2 separate regions of the Homo sapiens genome follow, and region 1 is linked to region 2. Evidence: promoter capture Hi-C in 16 types of primary human blood cells and fetal thymus (Javierre and others, 2016). All regions are on one chromosome and are shown on one strand. Each heading gives the region's core, a stretch centred on a gene start or on the middle of the fragment in contact. The rest is flanking DNA. Distances are from core to core; before and after follow the strand shown.

Region 1 (6,935 bases), core at 1,862-4,361, 290 kb before region 2:
TTATCCCCCTTATAAGGTTATACCCTGTCCTCTTCCCCTCTTAAGTTTCAATTTCCCAATAATAGAACTTTCTTCCCTTTTATGGGCTGACCCCTCTTCTACATTCTGTTTGTTTATCAAGACCTTCCAGGTGCATGAGCTGTGCCATTTGTTACATTCACGGGCTGGCTGCCAGTGCTTAGATTTATCATGCCTTGAAAGTGGACCATTTAAAATGTTTTCTGACAAAACCCTATGCAGACAGGGGTAGGTAAGAAGAAGCTTCCAGGGAAGCATTGCTGGGCAATCTTGAATCTTGATTACTTTGTCCAAACAATGTATTACCCTTTCCAGTTCTGTGTCTTTTGCCAATTTGTTGAGTGGTCTGCATGCTACACCTTCATCTTGGCTATCAGCAAAAATGTTGAATAGAACAGAGTTGAGGAGAGATCTTCTACCCCTCACTTAACATTTCCTACCAGGGGGACATGTGTCTGCTAAGTAAACCATTTGATAATGATTAGTCAGACTACAGAGCCCTGCTTAGCTGGCGATAATACAGCCATAATGACACAGGGCAGTGTGGAAATGACGTGGCACTATGGAAAATGCTTAGCATGTAGCAACGGAAAAAAGTGGCATACAAAATTAAATCATGAATATACAGGGGAAAAAAGAGAGGCTAGAAATATTTTTAAAAGACAGGTAACATGAACTATATTTAGGTAGCACAGCAGGCAGAATTCTGAAAGAGGGCTGCTTATGGGTTTTGGCCAGCCTGGATGAGATAACCTTGACTCCAGCTGGCAGGACGAGCCGCCTGTGCAGAGATCTGTCTCTTACAGCACCTGCAGGGATTCGCTGGGAATAACTGCACGCAAGCCCAGGAGGAGGCATAGGTAGAGTTAACATGGCCATGAATGTGTACAAGGTGCTAGGAATGGAATAGAGTGAGTTTGGTTATTAATTCCTGCAATTCCCTTCCAAAGCACCAAAGGCAAGGCAGCCAGTGTGGTAAAGGGAGTATTTTCCATCCTGTCTGCAGCCCTGTGCTGCTCAGCCAAATCTCGCTGACCCCTTCCCTGGGGTGTTTCATTCTCCTCATGTCCAGGGCCCTAGCGAGCCCACAGGGTCTGTCTGTGTGACTTAGAGAAGGATGCCCCTTCTGGACAGACGCAACACCATGGGCACACAGTGTGGTGAGCGGCAGGCATGCTGGAATCTAGCCCTCGCTCACCTTTCAGCTGGATGTCCTTGCACAGTGGACAACATGCACAACCGTATGTGCTGGCCCTGCCCATGTACCACACGATCTGCTCAGAAAACCTGGAAAATGCCTGATCCTGGCACAAAGCACAGCCCTTTAGTCCCAGTTCTTCGCCAGGTGATTTCCTCCAGGCCTTAGTCTTCCCGGACAAGGCCTTAGGCTTTAACAGTGGGGAAGGCCTTCTGGTGCTGCAGCCCCTGGGCGACTGCTCTCTGGGGTGAGGGCCCAGCCAGCAAGCCCATGACCATAGGACTGAGGACATCCCTTCCCCTGTACCCACCTTAGTCACCTCCCACCCGGCACTAGTGGGTCCTCACCAATTTTATTTGAATTGAGCCTAGTTCATTCTGGAGGTTGAGACTAAACATCCTTATTGAGCAGGTGTCTTGGAGACCCCCGAAGGCCACAGGCTTATTTTTGCCCCAAGAGTGCAGTAAGATCCTAAAATTGAAGTGATCTTTCTTGCCCTCCTAGACTGACTAAAAGTCCTGGTGGAGACAGGCTGAGGAGTCCTGCACTTACGTCTGAATGTTCTGTTAGTTGGGTTTTCACATTCAGAGTACACTGTGGAGATAATCACCTTCTAGCTTTCTGGAAACTTCCTAGGTTTACTCCCTGGTGCATTGCTCCTCCAAGTTATAATTCTAGAAACTCATTCCTTTGCCTTTGGCAATAATAACCCAGATCCCGGGACTCCAAATGGAAAAGAACAGGCTGCATTTCCAGACTTCTGGTGTGGAGGGGGAAGCCAGACAGAATCATTCTGGCTGTGAGCTGCAGCGGTGCTGTCCATGCCAGGCCAAATGCATCAATCCCTAATGATGACTTGAAGCGTTATTAGGATCCAGGTGACCTCGTCATCACAATCCTCTCTGAGCGGTAAAACTGGAAAAAAAAAATAAGGCAGATTGTGCTTGGGACTAGGGAGCCCCTGAGACGAGTTACACCCAGCACTTCCAATGTCTGGGAGCCCCCAGGAAGCACCCTTTGGAGAAAGCGTAAGTCAGTTCCCTAAAAGGAACTAAAGATGTGTTCCATCCCACTGTGCAAACCAAATTAATGCTGCATGCTGAAGGCCTTCCTTGCCAAGATAGAGGTGGATTTCTATTAGTCACTGAGGGCCATTTGCCTGGATGCAAATGGCCTTGCTGAGCTGGTGCGATGTCCAGCTGGGGGTTTTGGGGAGCAGTCAGCCCCGTGCATGTGTATTTAATAGTCATCAGGGCTTTCTCTTTTGGCTTCGAGGCTAAGCTTATTATCCAAGGAACAAATGGAATATGAAGGCTGCCTCAGCACCGCCAGAGCCCATTAGGAGATGTGCTATGAAGCAAAGGCGGCGCGTTGACAGGGCTGCAGAGAAAGAACTTGGAAGCAGAGGCAGGAAAGGGAGGGCGGCTTCCGTCCCAGCATCCCTGAAATGGCTTGCTGTGAGTTCAGCAAGCCACACTGACACCACGCACCTTCCCCGTGCCTGGAGCTCATCTGCAAACAGATTATCTTGCAGACAGAACCTCCAAAGGGCCCTGTCATCCTACAGCACATCGTCATTCTCACTCAGAAGCAGGGGACGTGGGGCCTTTTGTCTAACACTCAACAACATAAACGTCTGTTTTCTGTTTTTCTCCCCTCTACTCTTTAGACAATAAACAAGAACCATCTGACATTTTTCTTAGCTTGTATATTTCAAACTCAATCCACCTTAAGCATCCTACCTGACCCTCCCCAACCCTCCTTCCCTCCCGTGTTCTCTTTCCCTTTGGAGTCCTTACAAACTCTCCCTCTAGTTCGATGGTTCAGAGAAGACTGAGAGCTGGGCCTGGGCCTTGAAAACTTCCCAGTGGTTTTCTACTGCACTCACACCCTCAGGCACCTGGTGGGGTAGATCCCACCTTTTCGATGTCCCCTTCTCTCCACCGCGGCCACCTACTCAGACCACTTGCGCTTTGCACCTGGAGCATGACAGTAGTCTCCTAACTGTCCCTGACCACAAGCCACACCCTCTGCCATCTTTCCTCTGTTTGCTGCCAGAATGATGTTTCTGAAATACACAAGAGACCTTGTGGCTATCTTTCTCCCTCCCTCTCTCTACCCCTGCTTTCCTCCCGCCTCTACCCTCCTCTACTCCCTCTTTCTACCCCTGCTTTCCTCCCGCCTCTACCCTCCTCTAGTCCTTCTTTCTACCCCTGCTTTCCTCCCGCCTCTACCCTCCTCTACTTTCTAAGCATCTGCTATGACCAGCCATTGTTCTAGGTTTACAGATCTACAGGGTGGGGCAAGAAGACATCATATCCTCTGTCTTTTGGAGATCATAGAAACATTTGCTCTGGGGAAATGCTAAGTAGCAACCTACACCATTAATTGTTTAAAAACGACTGTGACTCAGTGCCAGGAAGAAGACTTTGTAAAAGGTAATGTGAAAATGTTTTCCCTGCTCAGAATCTTCCAGTGGGATGAACATGATGTGTCAATGCAAGCTTATTATTGTAACAAATGTACAACTCTGGTGGGGGCAGGGGCTCTATGGGAACTCTCTGTACCTTCTGCTCAATTTTGCTGTAAACCTAAAACTGCTCTTTATAAAAGGTCTTCTTTTTTTAAGTCTCCCAGTGGCTCAGCATACAAAACCCATGACAGAGGGCTGGGCTGAGCTTTTCCCACATCCACTGTGTTCCCTAAGGTCCGTCTCCGCAAACCACTCCTTGTTTGAGTACCCAATGCTCCCGTGCCCCAGTTCCTTCAACAGCCTCTCTCTACTTCCTGCATCTTCTTTTCCTTCCCTTGGCTACCTTCTCCTTTGAGAAACTCAGATGTCACCTCCTCCAAGAAGCCCTCCCTGATATAACCAGGCTGGATTAGGTGCCTCCCCTCTGTGCTCCCAGACCTCCCTCTGCCTGTCACTGTCATTGCATCACCTTGTAACTGTACATATCTGCCACTGCCACCAACTCCCACTGAACTAAGAGTGCCCTTAAATAGGGACAAACAGAATCTTTTAGCATAGTTACTGAAACACATGTAGGCTTCAGTAAATGAATGGATGCAAAATAAAGCTAATAGTATCTGGTTAGAAAAATAGATATCTTTGAGTTTTTACTAAAGTTCTAGGGATTGCAAGAATGAGCTTCCTGCCTACCTTTGCCTCTAACAGCAATGCTGCAGTTGAACCTGACAACCTGTTACCATGATGTAGAGAAGCCAATGCAACAGAAGAGAGTAATGTTTAATCTAGTCTTTGTGACTTGGCTCTCGTATCACTAAAAATTGTATTTGTGATAAGTAAATAAGAGTCATTAAACATCAAATGCAATTTAAGTGCTCCGGAAGGCATGCTCCTGGGTTTCAAAACCTCTGTGGATGTAAAGAACCCCCTAGAATAGGAGTTGGACAGTCCTGGGCTCCTGGTCAACTCCCACACTCAGTCCTTAAGGTGGAGGTCACATTGTGCTCCCTCACAGGTGGTCCAATGAGACCATGTGGGTGGAAGCACTTTGTAAACATAGGGGCTCAACAAATGCTAAATGTCACTCATGAAATTGCATCCTAAAGCAAATAAATAAGCACACTTCTTTTGTCTAAATAGCTATGTGTAGCCTTGGAGTTCTGGCTAGGGAGTCACCCAACCCCTGGTTTTGCCCCTTGTGGCAACATCTGAGATGCTGGATACAAAGTTGGATACAAAGCAGGGTGGGGTCTGTTCTGTAAAGAGCTACAGGCAGCTGAGGGCTCAGAACGGTGGACACTGTTGGAGAGACCAGAGAGGTGAAGTGAGGAGACTCCCTTCCTTCTTTCTTTCTTTTCCAGAACCCACATTGACCAGAGACTTTGCAGCCAGCTCACCCCTCCAAATCCCCGCCCTGGAGTCCCTGACCCAGGAATTTCTGCATCAGGCTGCTCAAACCTGAATTTGACAAAATTTCAAAGCGCTGTATCTTTATGTTGATAAGACAACGGATAAAGTGCCATACTTGGAACCTAGATCACTCAATGTTGCCTGTAGCTGAGTCCACTTCTGTCACTCACCCTGCATTGCCCTGCCAGGAGCAAGGGAGAGAAAGCCAGCCAGAAGGCATGGGCATGGGCTCAAATCTGGCTTCTCCTGTGGCCACTGTGAAAGTTGATCATACAAAGGTCACTGTTGTCATAGCCAAGCAGAGTTATGAGACCACAGGAAAAAGCACTTGGACCACGTAACATTGCTCCAAGAGTATAACTGTCTCCAACCCTGGCTGCTGGAACAAGTGTTGCAACCTGAAACCGGTTTGATCTAATAGCTACAGAAACAACCTGCGGAAATCTAAGACTAGTTTCACCCACTCACCAATCAGAGCTTGCCGGATCCCCAAAACGTTGCTAGTGCTAATGAACTTGCTTTCCTAACAATCCATAACATTTCTCATTTTTATGAAACCTACAACCTTCTCTTTGCTCTTTGGACATACTGAAGACCACCCAGTCTGTGTGTATGCCCCAAACTGAAATTCTTGCTCCCCAAATAAAACATTTTAAACTTAGAGATTTGTCTGTATATTTTATTTGACTTTGACAGCACCAGGGGCTCCGGCACAAATCTCCTCCTTCAAGCCCTTTTCTACACAGTCCCGTGGGTCTACCCTGAAAGAAGCCTGATGACGGCTCAAAGACACAATGTTACTGGGAGGTAAATTCAGGATTACTTGACCGAATGGCCCACCCGAGGTCACGGAGGCTGCTGGAGGAACAGAAAATGGTCTTCACCAAGTGAAGCATTGTCGGTCTTGGCCTGTGTCTGGCTGGAGAATGTTAAAATTCTGGGGACACAACAGAAAAGGCACAGTTGTGGGGACCAGGCCAATGTCAGCGTGAGAACTGGCTCCATCCCCCTCCCATGAACCAGCTCTGCGGCCAAGGCAGGTCTGCATTTCCTGGTCTGTGACACGGAGTCAGTAACATTGCCTACTTCCCGGGGCTATTTCCAGAGAAGTGAGGGAATGGGTGTGGAACGCCTGCCATCTGCGGAGCCCCGCATGAAACGTCTCTGTCTTTCCAGCCAGCCCTGAGCCAGGGAAGGGACTGGAAGCACAGCGGGTGGCTGAGGCGGGCTTTCGGCAGCTTACCCCCAGCCTTGCCCCTCCCCGCCTGCTGAAACACAATCTATGGTTGTCGCCTTCCTGGAGATGTTAGCCGCCCCCTCCAGAGGTGGTTCCAAATCTATTTCTCATTTGGCTGATTTAGGAGAGGCTGCGAATCGGTCGCTATGGTTTCTTTATTTTCTCCTGACAGCTTAGGAATCATTTTTCCAATTATTCCCAGGGGAGGAAAAAGAAGTGGAGGAAGCCAGTGTTTGGAATGAGGGGAAGCTCACGGATCTGAAATGCAACCTCTTCTGCAGGAGACCCGGCACAGCTACCGGGACCCATCACCTCCCTGTAGGAACCCCGCCCAGCCCCCTCCAGCCAGCCCTGCGTGGTTGTGGCCCCACTGCAGAAACGCCTCCGCTTAACACTCCAGCCTCTCTTCTATTCGGTCAGGCCACAGCTGCTGACTTTGTGCCTGCTGTAGCAACCCCGAGCCCCCAAATAAACCCTCCCTCCCAGGGTGGCCTCTCTACGGGGGGAGACAGACGGTGACCAAAAGCTATCAGTTAAATGCACAAACAGGACTTAGAGGGTGGAAAGTGACAAGAAGAGAAATATGGCAGGAAAAAGGGGTG
Region 2 (7,194 bases), core at 2,596-5,095:
AGAAGAACATCAAAAATGCTTTTACCTTTTAGTGCACTGTCATTGGCCCCAAAGAAAATTGTAACTGCTACTGGGATGTCCAAACTGTTTCCTTTCCTGATTAATCTTGGAAGGATAATTTTGGCCCACCTGGTATTGTAACCTGAAAATCCACGATTCAGAACATCACATTTTCTGAAACGAAAAATTTTAAAAAGATGAATTGTGGGCAAGAAGTGTTTATGGTCGCAGTAACCGGCCTTTAGTGAGGGTGTGCTCTCTGGGATTCTAAACCCGTCACGTGTCTCTGAGCCACCCCCAGGTTTCACTTTGATAGGAGCAAGAACATAGCTGAAGCATGCTAATCTTAAGCCATTCAAAGATACAGGTAAATACACCATACTCCTCCGTGAGAGAAGTAATTATATATAAAGGGGCTGTGATGAAGTCTACAGACTACCTGACTTCAAGCATGGTATAGTGAGGTGCTTTTAAAATGGAGTTCACAACAGATAGATAATCTGAGCAAGTATCTCAGGTAAAAAGTCACTAATATCCTGGAACTTAAATAGTTTAGTTTGGTTTATATTTAAACAGTCTATAGAATATTTGAGATTTCTGGTTTTGATTAAATAGTTTTAGTAAATACATTCGTTGTGTTTCAACTTAAACCGGTTAATACTTTTTGTTTCCTTCTTAAAAACAGTTGGATTCACAGTACTGTAGGTGTAATGGGGGAAAAAAAAAAAAAAGCCGGGTTGCCTGGATTTGTTTCTCGGCTCCCTGTGTGACTAGGCGTGACCCTGGGCACGCTGTGCTCCTTCCTCACATGTAAAGTGAGGAGAATCCCAGTTAAGGATTCGCATCAGGCAGTAGGTTTGAAACCCCTCAGAGAATACCAGTCACATAAGAGGGACTCTTTTTTTCTTAGTCTTGGTAAAATGATATGATTTGGGATTTGCTTCAGAATAATCCATAGGAGGGATGGATGGGCTCATTTCACTCTTTGCTTCTGTAGATATTTAAAGTTGTCCATAAAGTTTTCTTAAAATGACGCCTGGGGTTCAACTTATGATTAGTAAATCAATATGGTTCATTTTGCTGTATTCACATTCCCATACATGCATAACCAAGCAGAGAAGCTGGGGCACCCGCGGAGAACTGCAGGCCACAGCGTCAGGCAGCGGCTCCAAAGCAGCACAAGGGGACACTTTCTGACACTGCTCAAAGTTCTCAGGTGGCATTTATAAACTGCAGAACCACCACCGAAACTCAGCCTTATTTCTAAGAGATTGTTTGTGTGTGTAATGATTATAAAATGCGACTAGCCATTTTACAGAGTGAAATCACAATACTTTAATGAAGTGCTGGGCTGGGTGTGGTAGCGAGTGCCTGTTGGTCCCAGCTACTCAGGAGGCTGAGGTGATGATGCCTTCAGCCCCAGAGGTGGAGGCTGCAGTGAGCCCTGATCACACTGCTGCACTCAAGCCTGTGTGACAGAGTTGTCAGGCCTCTGAGCCCAAGCTAAGCCGTCATAACCTGTTACCTGCACGTATACATCCAGGTGGCCTGGAGCAACTGAAGAACCACAAAAGGAGTGAAACAGCCAGTTCCTGCCTTAACTGATGACATTCCACCATTGTGATTTGTTCCTGCCCCACCCTAACTAATCAATCGACCTTGTGGCATTCCTCCCCTGGACAATGAGTCTCAGGAGCTCCCCACAGAGCACCTTGTGACCCCCTTCCCCTGCTAACAATAGATAACCACCTTTAACTGTAATTTTCCACTACCTACCCAAATCCTATAGTACTGCCCTACCCATCTCCCTTTGCTCTTTTCAGACTCAGCCCACTTGCACCCAAGTGAATAAACAGCCTTGTTGCTCACACAAAGCCTGTTTGGTGGTCTCTTCACGTGGACGCGCCTAACAAGAGACCCTGTCGCAAAACAAAAACCACCAAAAACCAAAACAAAGTGCGGTAGAATTGTGACAAGGTGAGTCTTAAGTCATGGCAGCACTTCAAAAAAAGGCAAAGTAGCTTCCTACCAGTGTGGTGTAGCAGTGAAACTGCAAGTTCTGCAGTCATAGCAGCTGGACTTGGATCTGTCTGCCCCTGACTAGGGAAGAGGCCTTGGCCATTTCCTTGATTTGTCTGAGTCTACCCAGCCATCAGTGCTCAACCCTAAAATATCTAATTGGTCAGACTGAGTGAAGAGTAAATGTTTTCTGTTCCTTCTCCTATATACTGATTAGGGGAGGCAAGCAAAATTAATAAAGGAGGAATGTTCTGTTCAGAACTATCCTTCATCCATAAGACGGATCCCTAAGACATTTTCCATCCATAAGAACTCAAGTATCGGAAACCATTCTCACCTGACCAGCCTGTCAGCCAGCGATGCTCCCCATCCACCCTGCTGGAAGGAAAACTGGAGGAAGAAAAGCCCATTATTACTACTAATGACTGTAACCGGGCATCTCAGCGAGGGCAGTTCTGATTGGCAACTTCTGTTTTCTCGGCGCTCCCTTCTTGGCTTTGATTGCTTCACTCCAGGAGGTCATTTTGGGGATTACAGGTAAGTACACCTGGCAGCACTTTAGCAGAGGGGGATTTTTCTCTATCAAAAGCTAAACAGCCTGTATTCCCAGCACTTTGGGAGGCCAAGGCGGGCGGATCACATGAGGTCTCGAGTTCGAGACCAGCCTGGTCAACATGGCGAAACCCCGTCTCTACTAAAATTACAAAAATTAGCCCGGTGTGGTGGCGCACGTCTATAATCCCAGCTACTCGGGAGGCTGAGGCAGGAGAAACGCTTGAATCCGGGAGGCGGAGCTTGCAGTGAGCCGAGATCGCGCTACTGCACTCCAGTCTGGGCGACAGAGCGAGACTCCGTCTCAAAAAAAGAAAAAAAGAAAAAAAAAAAAAAGCTAAACAGAAATCTAAGTTCAGGAAATAAAGTCAAAGGTCAGTGAGGAAATGAAGGCCACACCGCCTCACTGCTTTGCTGGTTACCGAGCTGAGGGTGAACACTTTTTCATACACATTCCCATGGAATTCGGCAGCTCTGACTGCCCCATATGCCTAAACATAATGTTACCAGTTACTGGCGTATACACAAAAGCCTGGTGAAGCAAGTCCTGTCTGAGAAGAGGACACACACAGGAATGGAATTTCTACTCCCTCCCCGAAGTAAGAACCTGCATTTAGAAGACCGTTCCCTTCATGGGAGGTGAGATGATCTTGGATGAACGGATGGTCCTTTTCTACCTAATTCCTGAAGGCGTTTTACTTCCAAGGTCAACCCCTAACGGCCCCACCTGTGCCCGCAGGGAATGGGGCGAGAGAGCTCCTGGCGCCTCTGCCCGGAGCTGGCCGCGGGGCCTCCTGGGACACAGCGCGCGGTCGCCCGCGGCCGCTAACCCGGACCCGGAGGGGAAAGGCCGCTGCCCAGGAGGGCGCTGAGGGGAAGACCGCGCATCTCGACCCGGGTGGGAGGCGGCGCGGGGCGGGCAGCGCGGCCGGGTCCCCTCGCGTCTGTGCCTGGAGCCCGGGCTCTCGCGGACGCCGTCGTGACCTCCGGGACGCCGCGGGCCCGGAAGGCGCAGCCACTGGGGGACCCGCCACTCCTCCGGTGTCTCCACGGGCGTGGCCAGGCCTCCGGCCCAGCCGTCTCGGGCGCCGAAGAGGACGGCGAGGAGCCTCGGCCTGCTCGGCAGCGACCCCGCAGGGAGGCCGGGGCGGGAGGCCGAGCGTCGGGGCGGCCGTACCTGGGTGATGGAGTCCCCGAAGAGCAACAAGCGAGGCCAGAGCAGGGCACTCCCGCAGCCCGCGGCCTCGCACAGCGCCATGGAGCAGCCGGGCGGGGCGGGGCGGGGCCGCCAGCCACGAGAGGCGCCTGCGCAGTGGCCGCCCGTGGGTTGCGGGAGCCGGGCTCGTGGGCACCCACGCAGTCACTTTGGTGACGCGCGAAGGTCGTTGCCCCTTGGAGTCCGTTTGCAAGAAGCTCGGCCTCCGCGCTTGCTCACCCACAGCAAGGCTGCCCCCAGGGAGTCCGGAGCCCGCGTCCCGCTGCGTGGTTCCCGGAAGAAAAGCGGTTGGGGGCCCTTCTAAGCCCACCCCGCGCTCCGCGGGCGCAGGTGCGTTCGGCAAAGGGCAGGAGTGTGACCTCAGGACGCGCGGCGGGAAGCACAGCTGGCTCTCGGTGGGGCGGAGGGCTGCTCCAGGCCCCCCTGGAAGAGGTCGTGGGATGCGCGCGCGGCCTCCTGCGCCCAGCGTCACTCTGGAGGGCCTGTAACACCCACGAGGACGCAGGCACTGCGGAAACCCTGGCAGTACCTCGTGGTTCTGCGAATGACAAGGGAAAGCAGCTGCACCTTCAGTGCGCGCGCAGCCGGCCGCTTTTCTTTTTCCCGCCGTGGGGTGGATGCGCAGATGCAGAACCCCGCGGACACGGAGCACTGACTAACTTCCAAGGGATTCACCTGTTAAAACGTGGTTGTAATGCAACGTTCTTACCTCAACTGTGCAATGAAGTTCGGCAGCCGAGCTAAAAACGAACGGGTGGGAAGGATGCCTTGAAATCACGGAGCTGTAGATGAGTAACAGAAGGGCCAGGGGCGCCGGCGCAGAGGCCGACCCCGCTCCCTGGGGCGGGGCGATGGGCGTAGAGCATGACTTTCTTTAGGTTGCTCGTCCCAAGCTCGCTTGGATCACCTGGGGGAGCTTTACAACTAAGATCCAACCTAGGGCCCTCATTCCAGCCGGACTAACTCACCTCCTGGTGGCAGGACTTGGGCACAGGTGCACTTGTGATGCACCCCACGTGATTCCCACGGGTAGCCCAGATTGAGAGCCCCTGCTAGAGCAAGCAAAGGTGCCTGGACTTCATCTTTATCACAAGGACTTCATTAAGGCCTTCAAGCAGCAGAGGCTTGAGGCCAGGTCTGTTCCAGGAATCAGCTATAGGGGAGGAGATGGAGGTGGTTGCAGGAATTCAGAGGGGAGAGTAGACTTGGACTCGAACAGCAGCAGTGGAGATGAAGACAGAAAAGATTCAAGTGCAACTTAGAATCCTTATTATTAACTCAAATTGGTTACCCCAGAGGAGAGGGTAACCAGCAGCGGTTGCTATCGGCAGATCTTGATGGTTTCAATGGGAGCTGCACATACATGCCTGGAAGAAGAATCCAAAATTCTAAAATAATGGGCAGTTGATCTAGTAGTTAGTTCTAGAATAATGGACAAATTAATTAGCAATTTAGCAGTATTCAGGCTGTTGAAATAAAGGCCATTTGACATTAAAAGTAAACAGGCTCCCCCAGAGAAACGAATGCATTTTATTTTAGGTAACAAAAGTAGAGTCAAGTATTTTTTCAAAGTTCATATACAGGCACAGTCTCAGTGAACTGGCGTCAGGGCCTCGTACAGTCTCTGTGCAGCCAGCTCCACCATTTCTCGGAGGGATTCATCGTCTTCACTTCCCTCTTCACATTCTACAGTCTGAAAGTGAGGCACAAACAAGACTGTTAGAATTAAGTCTATAATGATTATATAGAAGATAAATGAATACTCTTTAAAAAAACCATCATCTCATAAAAAATTAGCCAGCTGTGGTGGCGTGTGCCTGTGGTCCCAGATAAGAGTCTGAGGTGGGAGGATCACTGAGCCGGGAAGGTTGAGGCTGCAGTGAGCTGTGACTGCACCACTGCACTCCAGCCTGGGCGGCACTGCGAGACCGGGTCTCAAACTAAAAAAAAGAACAATCATCTGTGTGTGCAGAGGTCATGGTGGGACTGATTACCATGAAACAGAACGGCCGCCCTACACACTTGTGGGCGTGCAGTGCTTCCTGACAGCAGCACGGTCCTAATTAGTGATGACTTGAGGCTGGGGTGAAAGACTGGGGAAAGTCTAGTAAACTACATTTACATCAAAGCCCACAGTTTGATCTAGTAAATGATACTCCAGGGAAGTTCATCTATGCCACACAAATTACTTGGCAAGGAATGGATGTGGCTATCTACTCAACATTTGGTACTGAATTTGACTGAAACTCACTAATAATCTTCTAGTTGCTTCTTTTTTTTTTTTTTTTTGAGACAGAATCTCGCTCTGTCGCCCAGGCTGGAGTGCAGTGATGTGATCTCAGCTCACTGCAACCTCTGTCTCTTGGGTTAAGGTGATTCCTGGGTTCTCCTGCCTTAGCCTCCCAAGTAGCTGGGATTACAGGCACACCACCACGCCTGGGTAATTTTTGTATTTTTAGTAGAGATGGGGTTTCATCATGTTGGCCAGGCTGGTCTCAAACTCTTGACCTCAGATGATCCACCCACCTTGACCTCCCAAAGTGTTGGGATTACAGGCGTGAACCACCACGCCTGGCCTCTAGTTCTTTTTTTTTTTTTTTTTGGAGACAGAGTCTCGCTCTATCATCCAGGCTGGAGTGCAGTAATGTGATCTTGGCTCACTGCAACCTCTGCCTCCCTGTTTCAAGCAATTCTCCTGCCTCAGCCTCCTGAGTAGCTGGGACTACAGGCAGCTGCCGCCATTCCCGGCTAATTTTTTTTGTATTTTTTAGTAGAGATGGGGTTTAACTGTGTTGCCCGGGCTGGTTTTGAACTGTTTGGAAAATCCACTTGGATCTTGCTGGTGCAAACAGAAGAGCGGCTTCTTTAAAAAATGGAGAGTCAACTAGATGCCAAACTAGAGAAGGGATGAGGTGAACTAAGCTGTATTATGGAAGAGGACAGCAATGGAGTGGCATACACGCGAACCTTGTACTATGCAGTAACCCGGAAAAACACGGAAAACTTCAACCATAATAATATAAAAAGAACAATGTGAAAAAAATGTTGGAAACACTGGAAGCAAATGCCAATATGCAACAGTAGACTGTTGAGTGTGAGAGCACAGATTATTTATGCCTTCACTTTATTTCCCAAATGTCTTGAAACGTAGGAAAGAGCAGCTACATACCCGTGTCTCCAAGTTAAGGTTGGCAGTTTTCCCGTCCACTGTGACGCTAAGAATAGAGTCATCCTTTACACTTACACAGTCTTCTCCAAATATGTCCCTGAAAATAAGCAGAAATGCAGGATTAGTGAAAATGCCCGGCTTTATATATTTGAGGAAAAAATAAAACTGAAGATAGGTCCTAGTTCTAAAGCAGAATACTGTATTTACTTTTTTTCTTTTTTTTTTTGAGATGGAGTCT

Evidence for each region. The method cuts DNA at HindIII sites, captures the fragments that hold promoters and counts their contacts. A CHiCAGO score of 5 or more calls a contact.
Region 1: a contact is called between a fragment that was not itself captured here and the fragment with the promoter of IAH1 in region 2, in 1 of 17 cell types (activated CD4 T cells). The highest score is 5.4, in activated CD4 T cells.

What each region holds. Positions count from the first base shown.
Region 1 is chr2:9,757,412-9,764,346 of GRCh38, reverse strand. LOC100996549 (a long non-coding RNA gene) reads left to right here. Exons shown (of 3, transcript XR_241267.4): 3 at 5,048-5,757. Among named protein-coding and RNA genes, the nearest start is that of TAF1B, 83 kb to the left of the region's middle. RefSeq lists enhancers at 393-687, 6,587-6,935. The HindIII fragment of the contact is 1,223 bases long and covers 2,500-3,722 here.
Region 2 is chr2:9,471,202-9,478,395 of GRCh38, reverse strand. It overlaps IAH1 (isoamyl acetate hydrolyzing esterase 1 (putative)), which reads right to left and starts at 3,845. Exons shown (of 6, transcript NM_001039613.3): 1 at 3,749-3,845; 2 at 2,357-2,409; 3 at 26-174. The coding sequence starts at 3,829. CPSF3 (cleavage and polyadenylation specific factor 3) reads right to left here. Exons shown (of 18, transcript NM_016207.4): 17 at 6,957-7,053; 18 at 5,295-5,480. The coding sequence ends at 5,379. RefSeq lists enhancers at 2,226-2,786, 3,267-4,034 and a silencer at 3,304-4,073. The HindIII fragment of the contact is 7,765 bases long and covers 1-7,194 here.